2 separate regions of the Homo sapiens genome follow, and region 1 is linked to region 2. Evidence: promoter capture Hi-C in human tissues and cell types (Jung and others, 2019). All regions are on one chromosome and are shown on one strand. The core of a region is centred on a gene start or on the middle of the fragment in contact, and the rest is flanking DNA. Distances in the headings are between cores, read along the strand shown.

Region 1 (7,702 bases), core at 4,847-7,346, 130 kb after region 2:
CAGCATAGCTTAGCCTAGCTTACCTTAAACTGCTCGGAACTTACATCAGCCTATGGTTTGGTAAAATCCTCTAACACAAATTATTTTACAATAAAGTATTGAATATCTCATGTCATCTACTTAATACTGTATTAAAAATGAAAAACAAATGATTTCTACTGGCTGCATGTATCAATTGCACCACCATAAAGTTGAAAAATCACTAAGTTGAACCATCACAAGTTGTGGCCATCTATATATCTAGTCCCCTGTGGTCCTTCTCCCTCCTCTAAATACAGAGTCCCTGAGCTGCCTGGGATAGTCTTGGTTATGGGAACTGTCATTTTCTGCTGCAGCGGTACGAAAGAAGGTGTACCTCTAGCAAGGAAGAGGTGAAGGAGGATTCAGGAGATAGTGAGATATGAGTGCCAAAGTGAGTTCCTTCAGAGAGACATGCTGGTGTCAGTCAATAGTGGTATGGAAAACCCAGGAGCCTTGGGTTTGGCCCCAGCTCTCCTCGCACCCCCCTACTTTTTTCTTTTTCACTCAGAGTCTAACTGTTGCCCAGGCTGGAGTAGAGTGGCCTGATCACAGCTAACTGCAGCCTCGACCTCCAGGCTCAACTGATCCTCCTGCCTCAGCCTCCTGAGTAGCTGGGACTACAGGTGCACGCCACCACACCCGGCTAATTTTTGTAGATCCCAGCTCTATCACTACACAGAAATGAACTTTAGGCAAGTTACTCAATGGCCCTAGGTCTGGTTAAGATCACCTGTAATGTCTCCTTAAATTTTCTTTTGTGGGGGTGGGGAGGATGGAGTCTCACTCTGTTGCCCAAGCTGGTATGCAGTGGCGTGATTTTGACTCACTGCAACCTCCACCTCCCGGGTTCAAATGATTCTCCTGCCTCAGCCTCCCGAGTAGCTGGGATTACAGGCGTGAGCCACCACGCCCAGCCGTCTCCTTCAACTTTAAGGTTTTATTATCCTCCCCATCCCCTTTCCACCCTGACATAGCAGCCTCAAGCCAATGCAAGATATCATGAAATCTATGTCTCCTCTCATGCAAATCCACAGCAAAGAACAGTGGTGTGGAAATGCTGCCTGGTGATCTTCCACCCCTCCTTATATGAGGAGCCTAATTGTTGCACACCTAGGACTCAAACACCTCCCGGTGGCTTAAGATCTACACAAAGCCTAAGTAGTTAAGAGTTCGCTGGGGCCAGGTGTGGTGGGTCACGCCTATAATTTCAGCACTTTGGGAGGCCAAGGTGGGCAGATTACTGGAGCCCAGGAGTTTGAGACCAGCCTGGACATGGCAAAACCCCATCTCAACCAAAAAAATAATAATACAATTAGCTGGGTGTGATGTTGCACACCTGTAGTCCCAGCTACTTGGGAGGCTGAGGTGGGAGGACTGCTTGAGCCCAGAAGGTTGAGGCTGCAGCAAGCCATGATTGCACCACTGCACGCTAGCCTGGGTGACAGAGCCAGACCCTGTCTCAAAAAAAAAAAAGAGTGAGCTGGATCTGGGTTCAAAGCCCAGCTTTTACAGTAGGGCTATTAACTGTGTGACCTTGGGCTAATTAAATTCTCTGGGCTCCTACTATCAACATTATTCTGTGAGCCACTATTGCTGAGCATGAAAGACCATCCAAAAAGCACTTTGCCTTCACTCAGAATTGTTTCAGAACAGCCAAGTTCTCTGTGGCAATGTGGGCTGCTCCAGACACATGAAGAAGAAAAGAAAAAGGAACTGGAAAGAATGCAATGGAAAGGTCAAATATGAAAAATTATCAGCACCCTTTATGATTATCCTATGCTTTTACTATTTACGTATTTATTGGAGACAAGGTCTTGCTCTGTTGTCCAGGCTGGAGTACAGTGGCACGACTGTAGCTCACTACAGCCTCAAACTCCTGGGCTCACGTGATCCTTCTGCCTCAGCCTCCCGAGTAGCTAGGACTACAGGCATGTGCCACCATATCTGGCTTTTTTATTTTTACTTTTTTGGTAGAGGCAGGGTCTCACTATGTTGCTCAGGCAGATCTCAAACTCCTGGCCTTAAGCAATCGTCCCATCTTGGCCTCCCAAAGTGCTGGGGTTACAGGCATGAGCCACCACACCTAGCTTATGCTTTTCTTCCAAGCATCTTCAAAGCACATTACACATTATTATATTGTTTAGGCCATCCTCACGGAACTTACAGTCTAATGAAAGATGGTAAAATACTTACGCAGATAAAACTGCGACTACAATAAATGTTGGGAAGGAAAAGTGCAGATTAGGTGACAGTGAGTAAAAGACCCAGGAACTGGTCAAGAAGGTCCAGAACAGCTTCTGGGAGGAAGGTAAGCTTGAACTGAGATTGACAGTACGGTTAAAAAGTCAGTAACTAGGCGGCGCGGTGGCTCACGTCTGTAATTCCAGCAATTTGGGAGGCCAAGGCAGGCAGATCACTTGAGGTCAGGAGTTTGAAACCAGCCTGACCAGCATGGAGAAACCCCGTCTCTACTAAAGATACAAAAATTAGCCAGGTGTGGTGGCACATGCCTGTAATCCCAGCTACTTGGGAGCCTGAGGCAGAAGAATCGCTTGAACCCGGGAGGTGGAGGCTGTGGTGAGCTGAGATCGCACCATTGCACGCCAGCCTGGGCAACAAGAGCGAAACACTGTCTCAAAAAAAAAAAAAAAAAAAGAAAAGAAAAAAAAAAGTAACTAGGAAGAGGACAGGGAAGAACATCGCAGGCAGAGAAAACGCTACAAGCAAAGCCCTTTTGGCTAGAAGGAGATGGTAGAAGTAGTAGATAGGAAAGTTAGGTAGGTGGGGACCACTCTGTACAGGGAGGTAACAAGATCATACTTGCATTTTAAAGATATCATCTTCCTGGCAATGTTTTCATTTGCACAAAACTCCATGGCTAAAACAAAACCCCAGAAAGCTAGAAATGTACAACTTGTCAAAAAGGAACTTTGGTGCATAATGAATGCGCTTACGCGAGGCCTTTCACCTCGGGAATGACCGTGGTAGTGGCTACTAGGAGCCCCATCTATTACAGGTATGTGCCTTCAGCCCCGGTGCCACAGTGACCAGCTCTGAGAGACAAGGCACACATGGTTACCAAACAGAAAACAAAGGCATAAAGAAGAGACAAGCAAGACCAACACCAAACTGGAAAAAACATTTTTACACTGGAAAGGATAAACAGTATGCCTTTTGCACATATGCAAAAAATTATCTCCTCTCTTTGGTGGCAGTATAAACTGTGGGACTAACAACATTTTCCTCAACAGTTTCCACATCTTACAGTTGCTATTCTTAGCTGAGCCACTGTAAAGGTCAATTTAATCAGCGTAAAAACTTTCTAAGTGCCAGCATAAAAAGACACACTGGGCAGTAATGTTTCCCCAGGCATGGTTTTAATCTGCCAATTTATGGGTCTGGAAAACTCTGCTAGCAACTGGCTAATGGCAACAGCGTCATGTCCTTAGGAAAACACTTTAAAGTTTAAGAGTGAAAAATAAGAATTGAAGTCCTTCCTGGGATGCTAAAGCACAGGACACCAAATATCTTGGCTGCTGGATATGAATTAATTTGGAGCATCACCTCTGGCTTTCCCTGCAGGAAGAACTAAATCTTTTTTTGTTTGTTTAAATAGAGACAGGGTCTCCTCATGTTGCCCAGGCTGGTCTTGAACTCCTGGGCTCAAGGGATCCTCCCACCTCGGCCTCCCAAAGTGCTGGGATTACAGGTGTGAGCCACCGTGCCTGGCCAAGAACTAATTCCTAATGGAAATGTTCAGTTCTCCAAATCATTTAACACATATGTATTGACCCCCTTCCCCCAACCATGTGCCAGGCACTATGTGGGATGCTATAGCTATAGCAATAAGCAAGAGATTCGGGGGGTGGGAGGGGAGAGTTTCCGCTTCTGGCAATATAGCTGGGTAGGTAACTAAAAATTATTCTGCTATAAAACCCTGGCTATACAACAATCACTTTTAATTACAAAGCTGAACTTGCAAGAAAGCAAGGAGGATCACCTGGGACCAAAAACGACAGCGGGAACTAGAAACCACAGTAGTAAATGAGATCAGGCCTTTCCAGTTGACCTAGAAAGTGGGGTAGTTTGTTGATCTTGGGCCCACCTGAAACAGGGAATTGGAACTGAGAACCAGTACAAAGCTGGCGCCCTCAGAGGGGGAGAACAGATTAGAAAAAACATTAGCCCACTGGCACATAGTGACAATAAAAACTCTGAAGTGGGAGGAAAACAGTATCTCCTCTAATAATGTGTGATCACAGATTATTTCAGATTTGAATTGTACTACTACATGGTCTGAGGATCCCCAAGCCAAAAATTTAACACAAAAAGTAGTCCCAGGCTGGCAATAAACCTGCAACATCTGGCAGAAATACAAAACTGAACAGATCTACCCTCAGCCACGGCACAAAGGATTCCTACACATAAAGTTCTGTTGGCCAGGCGCGGTGGCTCACGCTTGTAATTCCAGGACTTTGGGAGGCTGAGGCGGGCGGATGACGAGGTCAGGAATTCGAGACCAGCCTGGCCAACATAGTGAAATCCTGTCTCTAATAAAAATACAAAAAAATTAGCTGGGCGTGGTGGCGGGCGCCTGTAATCCCAGCTACTCCGGACGCTGAGGCAGGAGAATTGCTTGAACCCGGGAGGCAGAGGTTGCAGTGAGCCGAGATTGCACCATTGTACTCCAGCCTGGGCGACAGTGAGAGACTGTCTCAAAAATAAAAATAAAAATAAAGTTCTGTTGAAGATAAGCTCACAATCCAAAATATAAAAATGTATGCAAAACTAATCCATTACAAACAAGATGACAAATTCAACAAATAGCAGGATAAGACCCCCTGAAAAAAAGTCCCTATAAGATACAAGCATATCTCAAATGATTAAAGCCAAAAAGAAAGAATTAAAAACACAAGAAAAGAACACTACCAAACAAGAAATAGTAACAGGCAGATAAAACTTGTAGAAAAATAGTTATTGAAAGAAAAAACTCAACAGATGGGTCACACAGAGAGGAGACCAAGTTAAAGAGGAAATTGATGAACTAGAGAACAGATCTGAGAAAATTACCATCAAAGTGCTTCTACAAGAGAAAACATGGAAATGAAAAATGAGAAAGAAGCTTGAGAAGAAAAGAATGGAGGAGAGGAAATATTTAAAGGGATAACTAAAAATTTTCTATATAAGACTGATTAAAGATACAAAATTTCGGCCGGGCGTGGTGGCTCATGCCTATAATCCCAGCACTTTGGGAGGCCAAGTTGGGCAGATCATGAGGTCAGGAGATCGAGACCATCCTGGCTAACACTGTGAAACCCCATCTCTACTAAAAATACAATTAGCTGGGCGTGGTGGCGGGCGCCTGTAGTCCCAGCTACTCGGGAGGCTGAGGCAGGAAAATCGCTTGAACCTGAGAGGCGGGGGTTGCAGTGAGCCGAGATCATGCCACTGCACTCCAGCCTGGGTGACAGAGTGAGACTGTCAAAAAAAAAAAAAAAAAGATACAAAATTTCCAGATAATAAGAAGCCCACACCTAGGTACACTGTATGAAACTGCAGAGTGACAAAGGCAAAAAGATTTTTAAATATGTTCCAGTTGGGAAGACGGACAATTAACAAGCAAAATTATAATTTCACTAGCAGTAATAAGCTCCATGAGGATAATAAAACACGATAATGAGACAAAGAGTTTTAGATAGGGTGGTCAGGAAAGGCCACTCTGAGTAGGTGACATCTGAGTAGAGCCCTGACTGCTGAAAAAGAGCCAGCTTAACCAGACCGGTGAGAACAGTGTTCCAGGAAGAAGAAATATCAAATCCACGCAAAAACACCAGGGCAGAAACAAGCTTGGTGTGCTCAAGGAAGAGAAAGAAGACTAGTGTAGCTGAGTACAGTGATCTCAGGGAAAGCAGTGTGAAAGGGGAGCTAAGAATTCAGCTGAGGTCAGATCTCATAGGCTTTGTATAACAATTAAAATAATCTCCAGGCTGGGTGCAGTGGCTCATGCCTGTAATCCCAGCACTTTGGGAGGCTGAGGCAGGTGGATCACCTGAGGTTACGAATTCGAGACCAGCCTGGCCAACATGGCGAAAACCCATCGCTATTAAAAATATTTAAAAAATTAGCCATGCGTGGTTGTGCGCACCTGTAGTCCCAGCTACTCAGGAGGCTGAGGCACAAGAATCACTTGAACCCAGGCGGTGGAGGTTGCAGCAAACCGAGATTGTGCCACTGCACTCCAGCCTGAGCAACAGAGCAAGACTCCGTCTCAGTAAAAAATAAATAATAAAATAAAATAAAATAATCTCCAAAGTACCACAGTTTATGAATTCATTGTTGGCTTTGGCTAGTCCCTCCCTTAGGTTATGGTGGAGACTTGAATAAATATATAAATATTTTTGCAACTCTCATACTTATTCTTTACCTTGAGCCTTTATTTATCCCCCCCAGCCAGGTTGTGGCTGCTCTTGCAGAGTAAGCAACAAAACAAACTTTCCTTCCATTCTTGAACCAGGAATGGCTTTCTAGAAAGGAGACCAAAGTCTAGCACTGCATATCTACTAGGAAAAAGTTCTAAATGATTTTGGTAATGCTCTGTAGCTAAAGGATAACGCAGTTTTCATAAAGCAGACATTTGAAATGGCTAAATAAGACAGCAAACAACTTTAACTTAGAATCAGCTATTTTTGTTCTATCCTAGATAGAATCTTCAAGTTCTGAAAATGCAGCACTTTCAAGCCCAGGTCCTTAGAAACATATTTGTAGGTGGTAAGGAGGCAAAGCTTCATGTATTCACCTATATTTTTACCTATATTTTTACAATTAGAAAGTTAAGATCAGCCAGGTGTGGTGGCTCATGCCTGTAATCCCAGCACTTTGGGAGGCCGAAACAGGCGGATCATGAGATCAGGAGATCAAGACCATCCTGGCTAACACTGTGAAACCCCGTCTCTACTAAAAAATGCAAAAAATTAGCCGGGCGTGGTAGCTACTCGGGAGGCTGAGGCAGGAGAATGGCATGAACCCAGGAGGCAGAGGTTGCAGTGAGCCGAGATCGCACCACTGCACTCCAGCCTGGGTGACAGAGTGAGACTGTCTCAAAAAAAAAAAAAGAAAGAAAGAAAGTTAAGATCACGTTCTCCCTGATAGTATTGGTTTTGTTTTTTTTTTCCTGAGGCAGGGTCTCTGTCACTCAGGCTAGAGTACAGTGGCACGATCTCGGCTCACTGCAACCACCACCTCCCAGGTTCCAGTGATTCTCCTGCCTCAGCCTCCCGAGTAGCTGGGACATCAGGCGTGCACCACCACGCCCAGCTAATTTTTTGTATTATTAATAGAGACAGGGTTTCACCATATTGGCCAGGCTGGTCTCGCACGCCTGACCTCAGGTGATCCGCCCACCTCGGCCTCCCAAAGTGCTGGGATTACAGGCGTGAGCCACCGTGCCTGACCACTATTGGTTTTTTAGACTGTTCAAAGACCTGAGGGAAATAAAGAGAACTGTTCAAGGGCACACATTTTCAAATTGGGTAGAAGGAGAGTACAGAAGGGCTGAGGATGAAGAAAGTAAGCTCAAGAAGGGGGATGATGCAGCAGGAGTCCTGGCCTATTGCTTCCCATGTGTTAGTCTAGTCTCCCCTCTCTTTTTTTTCCCCCTCTGGAAACAGGGTCTCACTCTGTC
Region 2 (6,799 bases), core at 395-2,894:
CCTTCAAACACTGGAATGCGGGTGTAGCCGCTCTCCATGATCTCAGACATGGTGTTGAAGTCCAGGATGGCTTCGCCGGTGATCATGAAGCAGTCCCGGAGTGGGGTCATCACGTCCTCCACCGTCTTGGTGCGGAGCTCCAGCGCCCCTTGGATGATGTTCAGCTCCTCCTTAACGAGGTCGTTGTAGGGATCGGTGACCCGGAGCATCTCCAGCAGTTTTTCCCGGTTATAGACGGTGCCTATCTCCTGGCCCAGGACGCAGTCCAGCAGCTTGCTGACCGGGTAGGAAGCGGGGAAGGTCATCATCATGAAAAACTTGGTGAGGAAGATGGTGTTGGCCCCCACAGCCAGGCCATGCCGGGAGCAGATGGCCTGGGGCACGATCTCTCCGAAGATGACGATACCGATGGTGGAGACTACCACGGCCACGAGGCCCGAGCCGGCGATGTCGTCGAGCAGGATGGTGAGCGTGGTGTTGACCAGCACGTTGCCCAGCAGCAGTGAGCACAGCAGGTAGTTGCCCTGCCTGCGCACCGGCTCGATGCGCTTGGCGTAATTCTTCTCCTTCTCCGTGCCGCAGTTCTGCACGATGCGCAGCTCCATCGGGTCCAGGGCCATGAGCCCCAGGTTGAGGCCGCTGAACATGCCCGACAGGCACAGCAGCAGCGAAATGAAGATCACCTGCAGCCAGAAGGGCAGCAGGAACTTCTTCTCTTCGCCTACGATCATCTTGGTGTCCTCGCCGTCGTGGTAAATCCAGGTGGTCTCGGCCCACGGGGGCGGCGGGAGCCCGGCCACCCCCGAGCCACCCTTGCCCCCGACGGCGCCACCCGTGGACCCCGAGCCGCCGGCGCCCAGGGCGGGCGTGGAGAGCGACGTGCACAGGTAATAGGACTTGCTCTTCTCCATCTTGCGTAGCGGTTTGATCTCGATCTCGATGATGCCCGAGGTGCGGCGGTTGAGAATGATGTGGGGCAAGATGATGATGTCTGAGGTGCGGATGCCGCATCGCTGGGGGCCGCTGTCCGGCTCTGGCGGCGCGGGGCCCCCCAGCCCGCGCTCCCCCGGGCTGTGGCGCCGCCGCTCGTGCTCGGTGAAGGCGATGCGGGACCACGTCTCGTTATTGATGTTCTGCCCGTACACCCGCAGCTTGACCCGGGTCCGTTCGCTCACCCGCAGCGCCCCCCCTTCCATGAACGACACGTCGTTCGTGTCCTCCAGTCGCAGCCCGATGATCACCGTCTCCTCATTCTCGCCCACCGCTGCGCAGCCGCCCGCACCGCAGCAGCAGCTCAGCAGGAGCAGCGGCAGCAGCCGCCCCGCAGCCGCCTGCAGGATCCCCCGGCCGCGAGCGCTGAGGCTGCGGCGCGCCGCCATCTTCCAAGTGGGCAGTGCGGCGGCTGCCTGCCCGCCCGCCATCTTTACTTTGGGTTCACAAGCGCCACAGCCAATCATAGGGTGGCTGCTCCAGCTGCGGCTTCATCCTTTCAACCCGGCGGCGCGAGCGCAGGTACCGGCCCCTGGGCGAGACTGCAACGGAGCGTCCGCGGCCAGTGCTCAGCAGTTCGCCTCCCTGACTGACACTGACTCCACCTCAGCCAGCTGAGGAACCCCGAGGCTCGCGGGAGGGAAAGAGGGAGGGAGAGGAGCGCCGGCTGCTCCCGCGAGAGGCAGGCCGACCAGCCAATCACAAGCGGGTGCCCGCCCTCCCAGCCAGGGGGCTGGAATGGGGGCGTGACCGTGTGCCGCTCCGCGGACCAATGGCAAGGTAAGTGGGTGGGGCGACGAGAGCCACCGTCCCCGTCTGCACGCCAAGTTTCCAACTGAAAGGCGCGTGACTCTTGTGTATGTGCGAGGGGAGGGGGCGTGGCCATCTGGGACTCGAGAGCCAGTCAAAGATGAGAGCTGAAGAAAAAGGGGCGTGGCATCCGTCCTGCTGCCAATGGGAAGGAGCCGTCCCTGGGGCCCGCGCTCCCCAGGGGCCCCTGTAGTAGATCCCGGAGCCTGGACCGGCCAGGTTTGGACTAAAGCCCTGCGGCGCAAGGCGGCAGGTTCCCGGTGCACCGGTTACTGGCTCTCCAGTTCTCAATTCGTAGGCACAAAGCCGCGCGCCCTCCTGCCCCGGAAGCCCGAGAAGCCAACTAGAGGCGGCTTGGGATGCACACAGCCTAAAAAGCCGGGGCACCGGCCGCTGTCCCCAACTCCACCTGCGCGGCGCTCCGCCGGGGTAAGCGGCGTCGGTGGCCCCGGCACAGCTGCGGACCAGCAGTCCTCGCGCCTCGAGACTCCTAGGGTACGGGCTCTCTGCGGCTCGCGATCACGTGGCGCCACCTGCGGGCAGCATGAGCGCCCTGCAACGCTTTCCAGGTCGGCGGCGTACCCCAAAAGGTGTGCAGAAGTTACGGATGGAGCGGTCAGGGGGACAGTTCCCCAAATTTCCTAGTCATAGAACCCCTACATATTATTGCTAGGAGTATATACTTCCTAGACCTTTTCCCATATTTACAGAGTGGGAAGGGCCCCGAATCTGTATTCCCAGCAGGAATTCAGGCAAGTTAAGGAAATGGGAGGGGGCAAGCATCCTAAACAGACCCACAGAGGCTCATTCTTAATCACACTGACCAAACTCTGCTAGGGTCTTAGGTCACTCAAGAGCAAAAAGTTCTGGAAACCTAGCTCCCCAGTACTCCCAACGTCACCTGGAGGTGACGAGGTAGCAGAGTAGCTGCCAAATTGGTCTTTTCCTTGAAACTTAAAACATTCAGGCCGGGCGTTGGTGGCTCACGCTTGTAATCCCAGTACTTTGGGAGGCCGAGGCGGGCGGAGCATGAGGTCAGGAGATCGTAGACCACGGTGAAACCCCGTCTCTACTAAAAATACAAAAAATTAACCGGGCATGGTGGCGGGCGCCTGTAGTCCCAGCTACTCGGAGAGGCTGAGGCAGGAGAATGGCGTGAACCCGGGAGGCGGAGCTTGCAGTGAGCCGAGATCGCGCCACTGCACTCCAGCCTGGGTGACACAGGGAGACTCCGTATCAAAAAAAAAAAAAGAAAAAAAAGAAACTTAAAACATTCAAAATGTTTAATGTTTCTCTACCTCTTTTGTATTCTACAAGCACATCCCGCGCCCCCCTACCACCGCTTTTGTAAATGCATCAAACGTCTCTGATTAATTTCTGGTATGAGTAATTTCTGGAATGATTGCAGTGGCCTCCTAACTGATCTTTCCTCTTCGATACCTGTTCCTTTCCCTTCTCAACCCAGCAGCAAGTGATCTTGTCCATGAGATTCTGTTGCTCCCTTGGCTGAAACGCCTCCATTGGCTTCCCATCTCATCCTAGAGAAAGCCAAAGGACCTACAACATCCTACTAGGCTCGAAGGTCTGCTACCTCCCGTTACTTCTCGGACCTCATTACCTGCTGCTCTCCTAGTGGAAGGAGACTGATAATAAGCCAAATTAATTTCTCTCCAAACTGTTTCTCCATCACTCCAGGGATTTTCCCTTGCGAGCCTTTGCACTTACTGTTTGTTTCCTGGGCTTGGGACTTTCTTCCCCCAGATGTCAGCATAGCCTTGTTGTTCACCTCCTTTAGTGCTTTGCTCAAAAGCCATCTGATTTTAAACTTGCGGAAAACACTCCCTCTATGCCGCGTCTACTTTATTTTTCTTGAAAGCAAAGATCACTTTCTAATACACTATGTAAATTATTGATTTGGTTTGTTATCTGTCTTCTTCCACTAGAACTTAAGCTCCCTGAGGGCAGAAAGTGTGTCTGTTTGTTCACTGCTGTATCACAGGGGCCTAGAAGAATAGTAGATATATAGATAGATAGATGTATATTATATACATATATATTTTATATATATATATATATATATATATATATATATTTCTTTTTTTTTTTTGAGAGAGAGAGATGGAGTCTCATTCTGGCACCCAGGCTGGAGTGCAGTGGTGCGATCTCGGCTCACTGCAACCTCTGCCTCCTAGGTTCAAAGGATTCTCTCTTGCCTCAGCTTCCCAAGTAGCTGGGACTACAGGCATGCACCACTTCGCCCAGCTAATTTTTGTATTTTTAGTAGAGACGAGATTTCACTATATGTTGGCTAGGCTGGTCTCAAACTCCGGACCTCAGGTGATCCACCCATTTGGGCCTCCCAAAGTGCCTGGATTACAGGCATGAGCCACCACACCTGGCCCTAGATATTCTTTATTCTTTTTTTAAAACAAACAAACAAAACAGGGTCTCGCTCTGTCATCCAGGCTGGAGTGCAGTGGCACAATCATGGCTCACTGCAGTCTCCACTTCCTGGGCTCAGCCTCCCAAGTAGCTGGGACTACCGGCACATGCCACCACATCTGCCTAATTTTTTTTTTAATTTTTAGTAGAGACAGGGTTTCGCCATGTTCCCAGGCTGGTCTCAAACTTCTTGCCTCAAGAGATCCTCCTTACTTGGCCTCCCAAAGTGCTGGGATTACATGTATGAGCCACCAGGCCTGGCCAATGATAGATATTCAAAACAATATATGTAGAATGTTAAATAAATGAAAGTATTTATTCTGATTATTTTAAACAATGTCCTGAGTCTAGTTTCCAGCCCTTCCATTTCTGATGCTGCTTCCCCTACCTCAAGTCTCATACTGCTATATTTGAAAAGTAAGTTCAGATGAAGAAAACCACCCACAGGCTCAGGCTTGGCATGCATTTATAAGAATGGCATTATGGAAGTTTCCCAAGAAAAAAATGATTTTTAAGGATATTTGGCAAAGGTTAAGGATAGACATGATCCTTCTAACTCAGTGGATTGAAAATAAACCATTTTAACTTCATAAAAAGTGGAAATACTACAAATGTTTTTAAGGGAGCTAAGAGAGAAGACAGGCTCTCAAATGCTGAAAGTACATGTGTGGAATAGGAGTGAAGTCGGGGGAGGAGGAGCTTGCCAACCCTACAGACATTTCCTGTGCATTTCAGAGAAAGCTACAACAGGACAATGTGACATTCAGCAATTTAGAAGCAAGTTAGAAATTCAGGACTTCATAGAAGAAAAGGTCAGAAAGGACACCCAGACAACTTACAATATTAAAAAAAAAAAAAAACTCAAATTCACACAGAGGGTTGCTGAATGATCCTGGATGGTTGGTGGGGGTTTATACTCTTCATGTATACTCAAGACACACAGAGCAATCTAGATGCCTAAGTCAAGTAATTGTTCCTTAGCAAGAGGGATCTTCAAGTTTGGAGGCTTTTTGGCTTCAGTAGTTTCTCTTCTTTTTTTTTTTTTTTTTTTTTTTTTTTGTGGTGGGGAAGGAGTTTTGCTCGTCGCCCAGGCTAAAGTGCAGTGCAGCAGCATGATCTCAGCTCACTGCAAGCTCTGCTTCCCAGGTTCAAGCAATTCTCCTGCCTTAGCCTCCCAAGTAGCTGAGATTACAGGAGCCTGCCACCACGCCCGGCTAATTTTTTGTATTTTTAGTAGAGACGGGGTTTTGCCATGTTGGGCAGGCTGGTCTCGAACTCCTGACCTCAGGTGATCTGCCTGCCTCGGCTTCCCAAAGTGCTGGGATTACAGGCGTGAACTACCATGCTCGGCCGTTACCCTCTTTAGTGAGTACCTGCTATAGAGCAGGCTTATGGTGACTTCCAGGGACTTCCCAGCCCGTCCATTTGTTTAAATGGAGGGCAAGGTCAACACCTGCCTCTAGGGATCTCTTCTGAAATCTGGAAGAAAAACAAAAATGAGGCTCTTGAATTATGATATTTCACCTCCATAAAGGGGGACAAAAGGCCCAAGATTGCTAAATGGTTGCTGCTGCTGCCCAATCCTATTTAAAGTTCTGACGGTCTGACCTTGGGCAAGTCATTTAGATAAAGCTAGAACCACATACCTTCCCTAACTAACCCTCTCTTTCCAGAATCCTTCACTATATACTAAAAGGGAAAGGTGACTTCAATTTTCTCATCTGCAAAAGATAAGCTCCCAAGTCTGTAGGTTCAGGGATTTAGAAGGCATTGCATCCAGACCTAAAAGTCTTTTAAAGTTTGATAAGTTTGATTTTCTTAAAGATGGCAAGTAAAACACTAAATGTCATTCTACACATTTTGTTGCTGAACATAAAGCTGATTTTATAGAGAAGCTTTTCTTTTTTCCAAAAATTGCCTACTTATAAAAAGTATTCGTATTTATTGCTTCAACGGTATCATTTCTTTTTTCTTTTTAGGGAACAGGGTCTCACTCTGTTGCCCAGACTGGAGTGCAGTGGCACAATCATAGCTCACCGCAGCCTCAAACTCCTGGGCTCAAACTCAAGCAATCTTCCTTCCTCAGCCTCCTGAGTAGCTGAAGCTATAGGCACAAGCTAATGCACCAGGCTCCAACAATGACATTTTAATCACACCAAAACACAAGATCTTGGCTGGCCATGGTGGCTCATGCCTGTAATCCCACGACTTTGGGAGGCTGAGGCAGAAGGATAACTTGAGCCCAGGAGTTCAAGACTAGCCTGGGCAACATAGACACTGTCTACCAAAAATAAAATGAAATGTTAGCTGGGCATGGTGGCATGTTCCTGTAGTCCCAACTACTCAGGAGGCTGACGTGGGAGGATCACTTGAGCCCAGGAGTTCAAGGCTACAGTGAGCTGTGATCGTGCCACTGCACTCCAGCCTGGGTGACAGAATGAGACCCTATCTCAGAAAAAAAAAAAAAAAAAAAAAGGGCTGGGCATGATGGTGCATGCCTGTAATCCCAGCACTTTGGGAAGCTGAGGCAGGCAGATCACCTGAGGTCAGGAGTTCA

The links. Contacts are between HindIII fragments. The study calls those that stand out against the background at their distance.
Region 1: a fragment that was not itself captured here is called in contact with the fragment with the promoter of CNNM2 in region 2 in 1 of the 25 tissues and cell types used here (adrenal gland).

Annotation. Positions count from the first base shown.
Region 1 is chr10:102,787,567-102,795,268 of GRCh38, reverse strand. The region is part of intron 1 of WBP1L (WW domain binding protein 1 like); the gene reads right to left. Among named protein-coding and RNA genes, the nearest start is that of CYP17A1-AS1, 41 kb to the left of the region's middle. The HindIII fragment of the contact is 4,714 bases long and covers 3,740-7,702 here.
Region 2 is chr10:102,913,139-102,919,937 of GRCh38, reverse strand. CNNM2 (cyclin and CBS domain divalent metal cation transport mediator 2) reads right to left here and starts at 1,644. Exons shown (of 8, transcript NM_017649.5): 1 at 1-1,644. The coding sequence starts at 1,457. It overlaps LOC107984265 (a long non-coding RNA gene), which reads left to right and starts at 1,603. Exons shown (of 3, transcript NR_160733.1): 1 at 1,603-1,770. RefSeq lists silencers at 969-1,058, 1,669-1,848 and enhancers at 1,318-2,004, 2,005-2,691. The HindIII fragment of the contact is 11,141 bases long and covers 1-6,799 here.